Regions from separate parts of the Homo sapiens genome. Here regions 1, 3, 4 and 5 are each linked to region 2. The links are contacts of gene promoters, found by promoter capture Hi-C in blood cells and fetal thymus (Javierre and others, 2016). All regions are on one chromosome and are shown on one strand. The core of a region is centred on a gene start or on the middle of the fragment in contact, and the rest is flanking DNA. Distances in the headings are between cores, read along the strand shown. Region 1 overlaps MTMR14 (myotubularin related protein 14). Region 2 holds the start of RAD18 (RAD18 E3 ubiquitin protein ligase). Region 3 has its middle 74 kb from the start of LHFPL4. Region 4 overlaps LHFPL4 (LHFPL tetraspan subfamily member 4). Region 5 overlaps IL17RC (interleukin 17 receptor C).

What was found. Contacts are between HindIII fragments. The CHiCAGO score rates a contact against its expected background, and 5 or more counts as called.
Region 1: a fragment that was not itself captured here is called in contact with the fragment with the promoter of RAD18 in region 2 in 2 of 17 cell types (total CD4 T cells and naive CD8 T cells); the score reaches 5.5 in total CD4 T cells.
Region 3: a contact is called between a fragment that was not itself captured here and the fragment with the promoter of RAD18 in region 2, in 2 of 17 cell types (erythroblasts and activated CD4 T cells). The highest score is 5.4, in erythroblasts.
Region 4: a fragment that was not itself captured here is called in contact with the fragment with the promoter of RAD18 in region 2 in 3 of 17 cell types (erythroblasts, total CD8 T cells and M0 macrophages); the score reaches 6.2 in erythroblasts.
Region 5: a contact is called between a fragment that was not itself captured here and the fragment with the promoter of RAD18 in region 2, in 1 of 17 cell types (neutrophils). The highest score is 5.1, in neutrophils.

Annotation. Positions count from the first base shown.
Region 1 is chr3:9,656,643-9,659,447 of GRCh38, reverse strand. The region is part of intron 2 of MTMR14 (myotubularin related protein 14); the gene reads right to left. Among named protein-coding and RNA genes, the nearest start is that of MTMR14, 8.5 kb to the right of the region's middle. The HindIII fragment of the contact is 1,454 bases long and covers 598-2,051 here.
Region 2 is chr3:8,962,184-8,964,886 of GRCh38, reverse strand. RAD18 (RAD18 E3 ubiquitin protein ligase) reads left to right here and starts at 1,415. Exons shown (of 13, transcript NM_020165.4): 1 at 1,415-1,552. The coding sequence starts at 1,502. RefSeq lists an enhancer at 1,398-1,567. The HindIII fragment of the contact is 5,728 bases long and covers 1-1,875 here.
Region 3 is chr3:9,478,381-9,481,080 of GRCh38, reverse strand. No RefSeq gene overlaps it. Among named protein-coding and RNA genes, the nearest start is that of LHFPL4, 74 kb to the left of the region's middle. The HindIII fragment of the contact is 2,021 bases long and covers 299-2,319 here.
Region 4 is chr3:9,496,216-9,498,915 of GRCh38, reverse strand. LHFPL4 (LHFPL tetraspan subfamily member 4) reads left to right here. Exons shown (of 4, transcript NM_198560.3): 4 at 1-555. Among named protein-coding and RNA genes, the nearest start is that of LHFPL4, 56 kb to the left of the region's middle. The HindIII fragment of the contact is 1,526 bases long and covers 506-2,031 here.
Region 5 is chr3:9,927,453-9,930,173 of GRCh38, reverse strand. It overlaps IL17RC (interleukin 17 receptor C), which reads right to left. Exons shown (of 19, transcript NM_153460.4): 10 at 1,954-2,008; 11 at 1,688-1,869; 12 at 1,544-1,594; 13 at 277-322; 14 at 25-146. Among named protein-coding and RNA genes, the nearest start is that of CRELD1, 5.0 kb to the left of the region's middle. RefSeq lists an enhancer at 1,312-1,811. The HindIII fragment of the contact is 6,275 bases long and covers 1-2,721 here.

The DNA of each region.
Region 1 (2,805 bases), core at 75-2,574, 690 kb before region 2:
AAAGAACCAATTCAGTTTCTGTTCTCTCACTTTTTCCTGTTTTTATTATCTCTTGTCCTTAGGATTCTTTTATTGCAGTGCTAAGCACTGAGCTGTGTCTGGCACATAATACTCACATTCGAAGGGATGAATGTAGGCTTCTGTATTTACATTTGTAATGTATGCACTGAAATTTCTGGCAAGATGTTACCAGGTAGTGAGATTTTGTTGTTTTTTTCCCAACAAGGTCTTCCTCTGTTGCCCAGGCTGCAGTGCAGTGGCGCCATGGTTCACTGCAGCTGACCTCCTGGGCTCAGGTGATCCTCCCACCTCAGACTCCCAGGTAGCTGGGACTACAGGCACATGCCACGATGCTTGGCTAATGCTTTGTATTTTTTGTAGTGACAAGGTGTCACCATGTTGCCCAGACTGTTTAATTCAGTCTGTTTTTTATTCAGTCTATTCAGTTTAATTCAGTCTCAAACTCCTGGGTTCAAGCGAAACGCCCATCTCGGCCTCCCAAGTAACTAGGATTATAGGCGTGAGCCACCATGCCCAGCCAAACTATTTTCAAATACAGAAGAAAATGCTGTTATCACATATTTCCAATAGGAAGCTTTCCCAGACAGGCACCACACTTACCAAACTGGGTGGCTTGTTCCTATAATGTACCCCACAACTTCCTGAGATAAATGTTACTGCTGCTACTATTTAATAGATAAGAGGCACAAAGTAGAGCTTACACCCACATTATCTCACTCAGTCCTCACTTACCCAATTTTACAGATGAGGTAGTTTAATGAGATGAAATCTCTAGCCCAAAGTCACAGAACAGGTAAACAGGGTAGCTGAGATTCTAAACCCTGTGGGTAGCCACTGGGCCCATGGTTTTAACCACTATCCGGCAGGGCCTCACCTGTACTTCCCCTAATTCCAGCTTTTATTAACAATTATTGCTTCTTTATTGGACTCTGTTTCCCACTAGACCTACTGGTAAGGACTTCATCTATCTGGCTTCCAACTTGATCCCTGAGGTCTACTACACAGCAGCAGCTGAACGAACACTGTTGACAAACATGTCTTAGCTATTCAGAGATCCCTGTCCAGGCTTCTATTCCCAGATGATGAACCAAATTGGAGAGGTTCCTTAACAGGACCAAAACATTGCTTAAATCCAATTCTACCCTGTTTAATTCAGTCTATTTTTTATTCAGTCTATTCAGTTTAATTCAGCATCATAGTAACAGCCAAGCCAGACAGTAAAAAAGCAAAAAATGCTATTTCTTCCCACCCAAACATACCCGAAGTCCCCCCTTTCAACAAGCAGGCATCACCCACTCAACATCACTTCAGTAACACTTTAAGGCCTTGCAAGGAGTGAAAAGTAAAAACAAACTCCAACAAGCTCCTCTAAGGTTAATCATGTTCCACAGTGGCCTTGGCCTAACTGTGAGGTTCTGCTAGACAAGGTGGGAGAGCCGTGGTGGTGAAAGATAAGGCAGACAGGTACAGAGTCAGGAAATACAGCTTTTAACCCCACTCTGCTTACTACCTCTGTGATCTTCGGCAAAGGCAAATTACTTCTCTGGGCTTCAACTTCATCTATAAAAGAGTGGTGAGGGCCAGGCGCGGTGGCTCATACCTGTAATCCCAGCACTTTGGGAGGCCGAGACCAGTGGATCACGAGGTCAGGAGTTCAAGACCAGCCTGGCCAAGATGTTGAAACCCCGTCTTTACTAAAAATACAAAAATTGGCCGGGCATGGTGGCACGCGCCTGTAATCCCAGCTACTAGGGAGGCTGAGGCAGGAGAATCACTTGAACCTGAGCGGCAGAGGTTGCAGTGAGCCAAGATCACTTGCGCCACTGCACTCCAGCCTCAGCGACACAGCAAGACTCCATATCAAATTGAAAAAAAAAAAGAGTGGTGATACTGTCTTCTTCACTGAATAGTTGTAGGGCTTAAGCTAGCAAGTAAAACCTCAACACCTGCCAAACAGAGGTACTCAACAAATACTAGTTTCAGTCTCTTTAAGGGATCAACACTAAACTTGTTTCCTTCCAGGAAAAGCTTTTACAAGGCAACCACCACTACGTTTCTCAATGTACTATTATGTTACTGAAGGGTAACATTTGGTATTACCTGAGAGCTTGTTAGAATATGCCAAATCGCAGGCCCACCTCAGGTCTTCTGAATCTCTGCATTGTAGAAAGATCCCCAGTTGATTCACTCATAAAATCAACATAGAAAAGAACCACTCTGTTGGGTGCGGTGGCTCTCACCTCTAATCCCAACACTTTGAAAGGCCGAGGTGAGGAAATCTGTTGAGCTCAGGAGACCCACCTGGGCAATGCAGCGAGACCTGGTCTCTACTAAAAATTAAAAAAAATCAGCTGGGAGTGGTGGTATGTGCCCATATTCCCAGCTACTTGGGAGGCTGAGGTGGGAGAATCACTTGAGCCCAGGGGATCAAGGCCGCAGCAAGCCATGATTGTGCCACTGCATTCCAGACCCCGTCTTAATTAAAAACAAAAACAAAAACAAAAAAACCCACCTTGATTACAGCTGAGCTTAATATCAGAATGTCATCATCAGGGCACAGAGGTAAAACCACCAGCCAGCCAGCACCAAAGAGGGTAGGAAGAAGGGGAACGAAGAGAATGGCAAGGCAAAAACAAAGAAAACAAAACAAAACAAAACCCTCTTGTTCAGAAACTTTAGCTTAAAGATTTACGGAAACTAAGTTTACCCAGCTGGGCGCGGTGGCTCACACCTGTAATCCAGCACTTTGGGAGGCCATGGCAGGCGGATTGTTTGAGCCCAGGA
Region 2 (2,703 bases), core at 166-2,665:
AAAAAGTACATTCCTGTCCCTGTCTTTTCTCTCTCTCCCTTTCTCCTTACCCATTCTTTCTCTTTTTTCTCATCTCCTCTCTCTTCCTCTCTCACCTTCCCAGCCATTTGTCACCTTAAACCTAATTACCTTGTCCAACTAGTAGTGTGAAAAAAACAATTACTGGTTCACTCAGGCCACGGACCTGGTCTTAAATGCTTTTCCTTTGTCTCTCCAAGACCCCACTTCCTCCACATCCAGAACTATCCGACATTTTCCAGCTCAGCCTGGCATTCATTTGCGTTCATTTGCATGCCGTTCTATGATTGGCTGATACAAAGTGGGGGGCGGGGGTGGACACCGTAAACCTCCATTCCTCATGCATTTAATATAACATGTATGAAAAAAAGTATCTATATTTATATCTCGTTTAAGAAAAAAATTGTTCAATGATACTTGTTAAAGCACAATAAGGAAGACTTAATCAGGACAATTCAAGTAGGTATAGAGACCACTGGAACTGTGTCTTGCAATTGGTGAAAACTGGGCTCAACTCTGAATACAACATGGGCAAATGGAAATTTATAGCCAGGAAGCAGGGTGGGGAGCAGTGCATGAAAAATTACTAAGAGGAAACATCAGAGGTAACAGTAGATTCTTGCTGAAGAGGCCAGGGTGATCAGACATCAACTGGGGGATGGTGGAGGATGAGGAACACATCAGATATCAAGAGTGATCACATATCAAAGGTGGGGATTCTTGGTAACTTGATTTAGCAGGGTTTTTTGCTAAAACTGGATTTTTACAGGAAGTACACAGATTGGCCTAGGAGAAGGTTCAGGAGCCTGACTAAAGTTTGCTCAAGCAAAGAATCTTCGTCAATCTGCATAGGAAATATCTAGAAGGCTATATGCCAAAGTTAATGGTGCTTCTCTCCGAAGAAAAAGAAAAACCGTGCATTAAAATTTTAATATGAATAAAAGCAACAGCTCCCATTTAAAGCCCAGAGGTCCTGTTTGGAATCTGACTCGAAACTCTATCCACTTTTTCGGGCGTAGGCTTCTCTTGTGTAAACTGACAATGATAACATCTACCTCCCAGTGTTGTGATACGGGAGACATAAAGTAATGGATATAAAAACTTCTGTTCAGAGCAAGGACGGATAGTCACTGCGATTAGGGTGGGCGACCCGGAGGGGGGTCATGAGCCTGGACCTTGACAGATCTGGTGAGGTCTGGATTTGGTTTGATTCCTGGCTATCTTTTCTTAATATTCAACTGGCTCTACGCTTTTTAACCATTCACTTTCTTCAAGGTAAGTGCGGCAGAAGCCTGGCGCATGCGCAGTACAAGCCCTTAAGCGGCGCCCCGCCCACATACTACTACAACTTCCGGCAGGCTCCGCGCCCGCCTCTGGCGCGTCGCGGGCTGCTGACGTAATGCGGTAGCGCGGGGAATTTCGAGTGGTGTTGGAGCGCCGGAGGCTAGTGGGTGGCTGACCCCCAGCATCCTCGGGAGCGACCATGGACTCCCTGGCCGAGTCTCGGTGGCCTCCGGGCCTGGCAGTCATGAAGGTGAGTGCTTCGGGGAGTTTGGGAGCTCCCGGGTGTCTGCGGGGGGAGGTCCCTCCCTTTGAGGAGGATGTCCTCGCCTTAAGGAGAAAGGATGAGGCGCGAGCGTCGCACTGGGCCCGGGTATCCGGCTCTGCCCTGCCACTAGCCGACCGCGTGGCTCTGGGTCTCAGTTTACTCCTCTGATAAGTGACAAGGACAAGCCTGGTGAGCTGAGGTTGGCAGTCTTATGGCACCAGCTATTCTGCGATCCAATCCCAACAATAACATGGAGAAAAACAGTTATTCCAAACAATGACATCGACAGCTGTTCTTTACTGAAAGCTTACTTTGTGTCAAGCACTAAACAGTGACACCGGACATGATTTTGGGTGGACACTTTATCAGATAACATGTATGTAATCACGTAGCCAAGCAGGTAGTCTCCTTTACAGGCTCTTTCATTTCTTCTGATTATTCTCAATAAACGTAGTGCTCGTTTGTTCTGACATACTGCCCCAACTCCTCTCTAACACACCTTCACTCTTCTCTAACAATTGCTCATGTCTCTTAAACAGAGATCAGGACTCAGGCTCAGCGCTGATCTTGCATTGCGTCTGATTATTTCACTTAAATAACATTTATTTTTGTGGCCACTTTCTGTTTTGGCAAGGCATACCAGTTTCCATTTACAGTAGTGGTGGGCCCTGGATTTGCTCAAGAGCAGATGCACTTTGCTGTGCTGGATAAAGATCAGTTGCTTGGTGTTTCTTCTTGCTCTGTGATTATTTCCGTTTCTCACAGTGGCTAAGATAGCCTTCTTCTCCCTCAGTTTTGTAGACTTGGGGATTATAATACCTGTCCCACTGACTCATAAATTTGACTTTAGAATTAAGTGAAGGCTAAAGTAAGTAGAAGGCCTTGTTCTTCCTGCTGTCATCAGTGACGTCTAGAGTGCTTGGGGACTTGAGATATCTGCATGATGAGAAGCTGACATTGTGAAATGATCCAGGAAAGCTGTAGTTTTGGAGTTGTGGGCTTGGCACCAGGATGCAGTGGAGAAGAGCACAGATTTGAGTTCCAGTGGTCCTGGGTGAAATCTCCTGTCTGCCTCTTGACTGTATGACCTTCGGTTAGTAACTTAACCTCTCTGAGCCTGAATTTCTTCAACTATA
Region 3 (2,700 bases), core at 60-2,559, 520 kb before region 2:
TTTCAGCTAGGTAAGTGATTTCTGGTCATAGTGTCACAGCATCTCTAGCTGTTTCTATTTGTTTTCTGGGTTAACTGCAAAATTTCCAAAACTGTTGGTTTGGGTCTGCCACTTAAAAGAGAGAAATCTTGAATAAGTTGTATCTTCTGAACTTATACCTACCTTGCACATTGTTACATGTAAATGAGGTAGCTGATGACTTAAGTGGAGTCCAGGAAAGTGTAAAGTGACATAGAAGGTGCCACTGTTGCACTGGCCTCTTTAATTAATATTGTCTAGCTTCTATTTACACCAAGCTTGTCCAACCCACAGACCACGGGCTGCACGTGGCCCAGGATGGCTTTGAATGCGGCCTAACACAATCATAACTTTCTTAAAATATATATATATTTTTAAGCTCATTAGCTATTGTTAGTGTATTTTACATGTTGAATAATTCTTCCAGTGTGGCCCCGGGAAGCCAAGAAGATTGGACACCTCTGATTTACACCATATCAAAAGCAAAGTCCCTAGCAACACAGTAAGTACTTGAAAAGAATAGCAAATAGGTTAACTCTGAATGGGCAGTTGACTGTCTTACCTTGATATTCTCAGCACCTCAGATATAGCCTAGCACACAGTAGGTGTTCAGCCAATGGTCATGGAACAGAACCTTCCAATTATGGCAGAAATCAGTTAGTTTTATTCATTATCAGAAGCCCAGTGCTATAGCTGAAACACTGTACTAGGTCTCAATTTCTCATCTTTAACTTCTGGCATTTGGCTTGCTTTCTTCACAGAATTATGAGTCAAAATAAGACACTGTATATGGAAACACTTTCTAAAGATCATGCACACTATTCTCTTCCTAACCCAGGTAGAATCAGGTTGTGGTTGGTGGTAGGTTACCTAGGTATTCCTAGGGCATTTTGGAGGGATCTTCTAATAAAACAAGTGGTTTTGTTATGTTTCCACTTTCTATTTTCTTTTGAGACGGAGTCTCGCTCTGTCGCCCAGGCTGGAGTGTAGTGGCACGATCTCGGCTCACTGCAACCTCTGCCTCCTGGGTTCAAGCGATTCTCCTGCCCCAGCCTCCCAAGGAGCTGGGATTACAGGCACGCACCACCACGCCCGGCTAATTTTTGTATTTTTAGTAGAGACAGGGTTTCACCATGTTGTTCAGGCTGGTCTCAAACTCCTGATCTTGTGATCCGCCTGCCTTGGCCCCCCAAAGTGCTGGGATTACAGGCATGAGCCACCACGCCCAGCCTTCCATTTCTAAACTCCTTCAACTAATAAATAGCATCTTCATCTTTGAATCCCTTATGTGCTTTGCAAACTGCAGTCTACCTTAGTTACTCAGTAAACATTTGTCAAACAAATGTTAGAATACTGCCAATTCAATCCATTGGCAAGTTCTGCTGTGTACTTGCAAAACATATCCTGACTCCAATCACTTCTTATCCCCATCATTACCGTCTTAATAGAAGCCACCACTGCATTGTTGCTTGCCTGAACAACTGCTCTACCTTCCACACCAGTTTCTCAGCTCCTATTCATCTCTTCACCAACAGGATCAAAACAATCAGAGTAATTTTTAAAAATCAACCAAATATAAATTAGACAATGTCACTTCTCTCCTTAAAATCCTGCAATGACTCCTCCACTGTACTTACTGAATGCAGATTATTTAAATTATACCTACAAGGTTCTACATTAGAGACCAGCAAACTACAGCCTGCAAACCAAATCCAACTTGCCACTTGTTTCCTGTAAATAAAGTTTTATTGGAACATAGCCACATACTGTCTATGCCTGCTTTTGCACTGCAATGGAAGAGCTGAATAGTTGTTTTTTTTTTTTTTTTTTTTTTTTTTTTTGAGACAGAGTCTCGCTCCATCACCCAGGCTGGAGTGCAGTGGAGTGACCTTGGTTCACTATAACCTCCTCCTCCCAGGTTCAAGAGATTCTCCTGCCTCAGCCTCCTGAGTAGCTGGGATTACAGGTGCGCACCACCACACCTGGTTAATTTTTGTATTTTTAGTAGACAGGGTTTTGCCATGTTGGCCAGGCTGGTCTCGAACTTCTGACCTCAAGTGATCTGCTCTCTTGGGCCTCCCAAAGTGCTGGAATTACAGGCATGATTCGCACCCAGCCAAAGGGCTGAATAGTTATGACAGAGACCATACATGGCTTGCAAAGTCTAAATATTTACTATCTGGCCCTTTATAGAAAGAGTTTGCCGACTCCTGCTCTACATGATCTGTCCCCTATCTCCCTCTTACAGGATCTTCTATCCTCTTTCCCAGCCCCATCCATTTATTACATCTTAACCAAGCTTTTTCTACCACAGAGTCTGCAACGTTCAAGAATGAATTTCACTCACATCGTCCCAGGACTGCCTCCTTGTCACTGAAGTCTCAGTTTAAATGTCAACTCCTCAGAGACTTTTCTTGACCAACCAATCTAGAGTGGCTCCTTCAACTGTCTTAGTCACATATCTGCTATGAAACAATTAACATGGCAATGACTATTTAAAATTATATACTAGTTTAGTTCTCTCCTCCACTAGAATGTAAACTCCATGAAAGAAGAGACCTTACTTTGCCCACCCCCAATCAGCATTCTAATCACCATAAGCCCAGCACCAAAAACAATGTCCAGCATTGTTTTTGAATGAAAAAGACCAATAAATAGTTGCTGAATGAATGAGGCCAAGGT
Region 4 (2,700 bases), core at 19-2,518, 530 kb before region 2:
CTTTGGGGACCGGTACCCATGAAGGAAAACTTTCCTGAGGGGGTGAGGACCAAAGAATCAAGATCCTTTTCAGGCCTGATAGCCAAGATGATGAGAACTTTTAGATAAGGCTGTGGGGAGAGTCCCTGGCCTTTTGAGCATCCTGCTTGGGCACACGGGGAATAACCTTTCTCCAGCTTCCAGTGTGAACTGAGAAAGAGAAAGGGAAACCCTGTCTTTGGAGAAGCTGGGATGTTCCCAGCACCAGAAACTTCTGCAGGCCCCTGCCTGGCCCACGGCTAACCTTTGGGTGGGACTGGAGTTTCCTGAACAGGGAACAAGGGAGCCTTCCGCAGAGCTCTGATGGGCAGGCCTCCGAGGGCCTGTGCTGTGTGCTGTTAGGATAGCTTGGTGTTGTCTATACCCCATTAGTAAGTTTTGTCTGAGTGTGTCCTCGCTGTTCATTGTCTAATTTGGTAACATTTATTTTGGTCCTGACCCCTTCTGCTGCTGCTGGGTTTAAGCTTCAGTGCAGGTGGAATGACATTCAAATAAAGAAACACTTTCTATCACCCACGCTGGCTGCCACTTCTCTGAGTCACTGGGATCAAGAGGGGTAAGATTCCAACCCTATGGATCAGGTTTGTCTGGTATTAACAGAACCCTACTACTGTGGCTTAACAAGATAGTTTATTTTACCATCACATTAAAAAAAAAAAAAAAAAAAAAAAAAGCCTGGAGGTGGGTAGATCACGGCTGATATGGCTCTCAGTGTTATCCAGAACCCAGGCTCCTATCTTTCTGCACTGCCATTTTCAATCCTGGCTACATCCTCAAGAACACCTCATGGCCCAACGTGGGCTGCTGGAGCTCCAGTCACCTGGTCCACATTTCATTTGAAGACTTCTGGAAATTCCATAGGACTGTGTCACTTGGGCCACATAACAGTAAAGGAGGCTGAAAAAGTGTGGTCTGTTATCTCGGCGCATTGCCAGCCCAAATAAAACTGGGGTTCTTGGCCGGGCAAGGTGGCTCATGCCTGTAATCCCAGCATTTTCAGAGGCTGAGGTGGGTGGATCACCTGAGGTCAGGAGTTTGAGACCAGCCTGGTCAACATGGCAAAACCCTGTCTCTACTAAAAATACAAAAATTAGCCAGGCATGGTGGTGCGTGCCTGTAATCCCAGATACTCAGGAGGCTGAGGCAGGAGAATTGCTTGAACCCAGGAGGCGGAGGTCGCAGGGAGGTGGGATGGCGCCATTGCACTCCAGCCTGGGCAACAGAGCAAGACTCCGTCTCAAAAAAAAAAAAAAATAGGGTTCTGATACAAAGGAGAAAGGAGTGAATAGAGAGAGGGATACAGTAATCTCTGCACACCTCTGACAGCACAGGCACGACTTGTCCAAGTCCATACAGGCAGAAAAGAGTAGAGCCTCATCTGCTCTAGCCAGAGTGCTCAGTCCAGTCACTTTGCCTCTCTCTAAAGCCCCATTGAATAAATAGAGAAAACAATAGTGACTCCCCCAAGGGAAGCTGTAAGCAACATACCAGGGAATATATGCACTTTGCTCTGCAGGGTATCTGGCACGCTGTAATGTGCGCAGTACCAGGTAGCTACATTGAAGACTTGGAAATGGAGTCCTCTTCCAACACATTTTAAGCACTTAGTGTATGCTAAGCACTTAAGCTAGAAAAAAAATGAGCAAAACAGAGATGCTGTCTTAAGCATAATTCTGGTTGGGGAGATGAACATGTGAAAATAACGCATGACTTGCCACATGCAGGGTATTGTGGGTATCCTAGGCAGGAATACTTTAAATGGCTTTTGGTGACGTGGGCAGCGTAGGAGGAGGTCTTGCTGTAGGATGAGAAGTTAGGCAGGAGGGGTCAGGAAGGTCAAAGAGAAGGCAGCTTGAGGAAAAAGACTGAGGTAGGCAGCAGAACTGTGTATGGAGGACGAAAAGCAACTTAGTTTGAAATGTGAAGTACGAGGCAGGGAGGAGTCAGAGATGAGTCTAGAGAGACAGGCGAGGGCCAGACCATGAGAAAGCTTGGGGGCCATGGACAGGAGTTTGGACTTAAGAGCAATGGGGAACCACTGAAGGATTTGAAGCAGAAGGAAAAATGACTCAATTTGCATTTTAGAAAGAGCACTCTGGTGGTAGCATTAGGGGGCTGGATTAGGGGTAGACTGTTAGCCCATTTCTGCATTGTTATAAAGCCATACCTGAGACTGCATCATTTGTTTTATTTATTTATTTTGAGATGGAGTCTCCCTCTGTTGCCCAGGCTGCAGTGCAGTGGCACAATCTCAGCTCACTGCAACCTCAGCCTCCCTGATTCAAGTGATTCTCCTGCCTCAGCCTCCTGAGTAGCTGAGATTACAGGTGTGCACCACCACACCCGGCTAATTTTTGTATTTTTAGTAGACATGGGATTTCACCATGTTGGCCAGGCTGGTCTCAAACTCCGGGTCTCAAGTGATCCACCCGCCTCAGCCTCCCAAAGTGCTGGGATTGCAGGCATAAGCCACTGCACCTGGCCTGCATAATTTATTTTTATTTTTTTGAGACAGGGTCTTGCTCTGTCACCCAGGCTGGAGTGCAGTGGTGAGATCACAGTTCACTGTAGCCTCAACTCCCAGGCTCAAGCAATCCTCCCACCTCATTCTCCCAGGTAGCTGGGACCATAGGCACCACCATGCCTGGCTATCTCTTTTTT
Region 5 (2,721 bases), core at 26-2,525, 970 kb before region 2:
GGAGGAGGGTCGCCCAGTCCTAACCGTGGAGGCTTTGCTGGGTAGTGAAGTACAGCCACTGGGTTCCAAGGCACAGAGGGATCTGTTGTCCTGGGGGCCTCGTGTCTCCAACAGTAGCACATCGTCTTTGAGAGGCCCCAGGGAGTCTGGAAGGGGTGAGAGGCCACTCTGACCAAGACCCATCCTTGCTGGGATTGGCCACTTGCCTGCCTCCCATGCCCTGACCTTCACCCCTAGGAGGTGGCCCTGCCCCAGCTGCCCCCAGGCCCAACTCACCAGCCCACAAGCACTCCTGCAGCTGCAGCTTCTCCGAGCTGTTCACCTGCTGGGAAGAGACCATGGTTAGGGCCACTAAGAAAAGCAAAAGCCAAAGGCAGAAAGACCAGAATGGGGCAGGCAACAGAAGGCCTGTTGGGTTGGGAATCTGCACTCAATCTGACCTGAGGCAGATGTGGATTCAAGGCTGGGTGATTAGGAATCACTACATCTTTCTCTGCCCCAGCCTTGTGAGATCATCTGTATAAAGCGTCTTCTGACCCTAAAGCTGTTTTTATGTCTTACGGAGCATGGTTCCCCTCTCATCTAACCTTCTCAAAGAGATTCCTTTCTCACATGACCACCCTGCTAAAAATTGCAACCCCAGTCCCACCTTATCCCTTTCCCATGGTATTTGTATGCAATTTTAAGATACTATATGATTTATTTACAATGTCTGTTGCCTGCCTTTCTCCATTACAATATAAGTTCTATGAGGGTAGAGATGTTAGGGTCTATCACAAGTGCCTAAAACAGTGACTTGTGCTGCTCAAAAAATCTTGAATGAGTGAATTTTTTTTTTTTTTGAGACGGAGTTTCACTCTGTCGCCCAGTCTCACTCTGTCACCCAGGCTGGAGTGCAGTGGCGCCCTCTCAGCTCACTGCAAGCTCAGCCTCCCAGGTTCACGCCATTCTCCTGCCCCAGCCTTCCTAGTAGCTGGGACTACAGGTGCCCACCACCACGACCGGCTAATTTTTTGTATTTTTAGTAGAGATGGGGTTTCACCATGTTAGCCAGGATGGTCTTGATGTCCTGACCTCGTGATCTGCCCGCCTCGGCCTCCCAAAGTGCTGGGATTACAGGCGTGAGCCACCGCGCCTGGCCGGATGAGTGAATGTTCTTATAATCACCCTTTGAAACTGTAGAGCAACCCATTCTACAGGTATGGAAATAGAATAAGGATAGCAATAATAAAAGTGGCTACATTTATGGAGCATTTAGTCTGTACCGATTCCTAAGGGGAAGCACTTCTCTTATTTCATTGTCACAACCACTCCATGAGGTAGTTACTGTATTATCATCTGCATTAAACAGATGAGGAAACTGACGTTCAGAGAGGTGAAGTGAGTTGCCCAGGGTCCCGCGCACTACTAAAGTAGGCAGTGGAACTCCCATAGAGGAAGCTGGCAACCACTATGCTTTAGCGGCCCAAGAACTAAGACCCCCTTGGCTGGGGGGTCTGCCCAGGTCCAGCCTCCAGCCCAGCACTATGCACCCCTTTCTGACCTGAACACAGAGGTTAGGGTGGCCTTTCAGCAATGGGAACTCGAGAACCTTCTGTGGAAAGAGAGGAATGGGTGGGATCACAAAAGGGGACCCCCGGTTCCCCACTCTCCCCTCACCACGGGAGGTGCCCTCTGCTTCACTTACGTCCACAGTGACGTTCTCCCAGGAAAGCGGTGGGACCAGTGGCTGGCAGGGGTCCCCACCCGGAGCCCGCCAGCACAGTGCCGCTTCTGCGGGCAGCGAGCACGGTGCGTCCAGCAGCCAGCTCTGCAGGGTCAGCAGTTGCAGTCGGGCGGCTTGCCAGAGGTTCTGGTGTGCGCGGGGGTCTGCAAGGAAAGGGCACAGTCACCGCAGGCCAGGTACCCATCGCTCGCAACACCCCAACCCCAGCCCCAGGCCGGTCGGCTCACCCTCCCTGAAGGGGCAGATGTTCGTCCTAACGGAGTCAGGTTCCAGAGGCCACACCTGGAAAGGAAATGGGGGTCTGCTCAGGTCCCCTCCATGGGCATGTGCCTGGCCCTCTGCTGGACAGTGGGGATGCACTCATTCAGCAGGTATTTCACAAACACTTGCTGGGTCTTCCTGCCTTTTACAAAACCTGGAGGTGCTCACATCTATTCTTCCAGCAAACATAATGCTGGGCACTGGCAACATCTTCATTAACAAACTTTTTTTTTTTTTTGAGATAGAGTCTCGCTCTGTCGCCCAGGCTGGAGTGCAGTGGTGCAATCTTGGCTCACTACAACCTCCACCTCCCAGGTTCAAGCGATTCTCCCATCTCAGTCTCCTGAGGAGCTGCGATTACAGGAACATGCCACAACGGCCGGCTAACTGGTTAATTTTTGTATTTTTAGTAGAGATGGGGTTTCACCACATTGATCAGGCTGGTCTCGAACTCCTGACCTCAAGTGATCCACCCGTCTCAGCCTCCCAAAGTGTTGGGATTACAAGCGTGAGCCACCGCGCCTGGCCCATTCAACAGACTTTTAATGAGTGCCTACCATTGTGTCTTAGCAGTATGGCAAGCACAAGAGACCTTGGATAATTAAATTTTTATTATTTTTTTATTTTTTGAGATGGAATCTCACTCTGTTGCCCAGGCTGGAGTGCAGTGGTGTGATCTCAGCTCACCACAACCTCCGCCTCCTGGGTTCAAGTGATTCTCCTGCCTCAGCTTC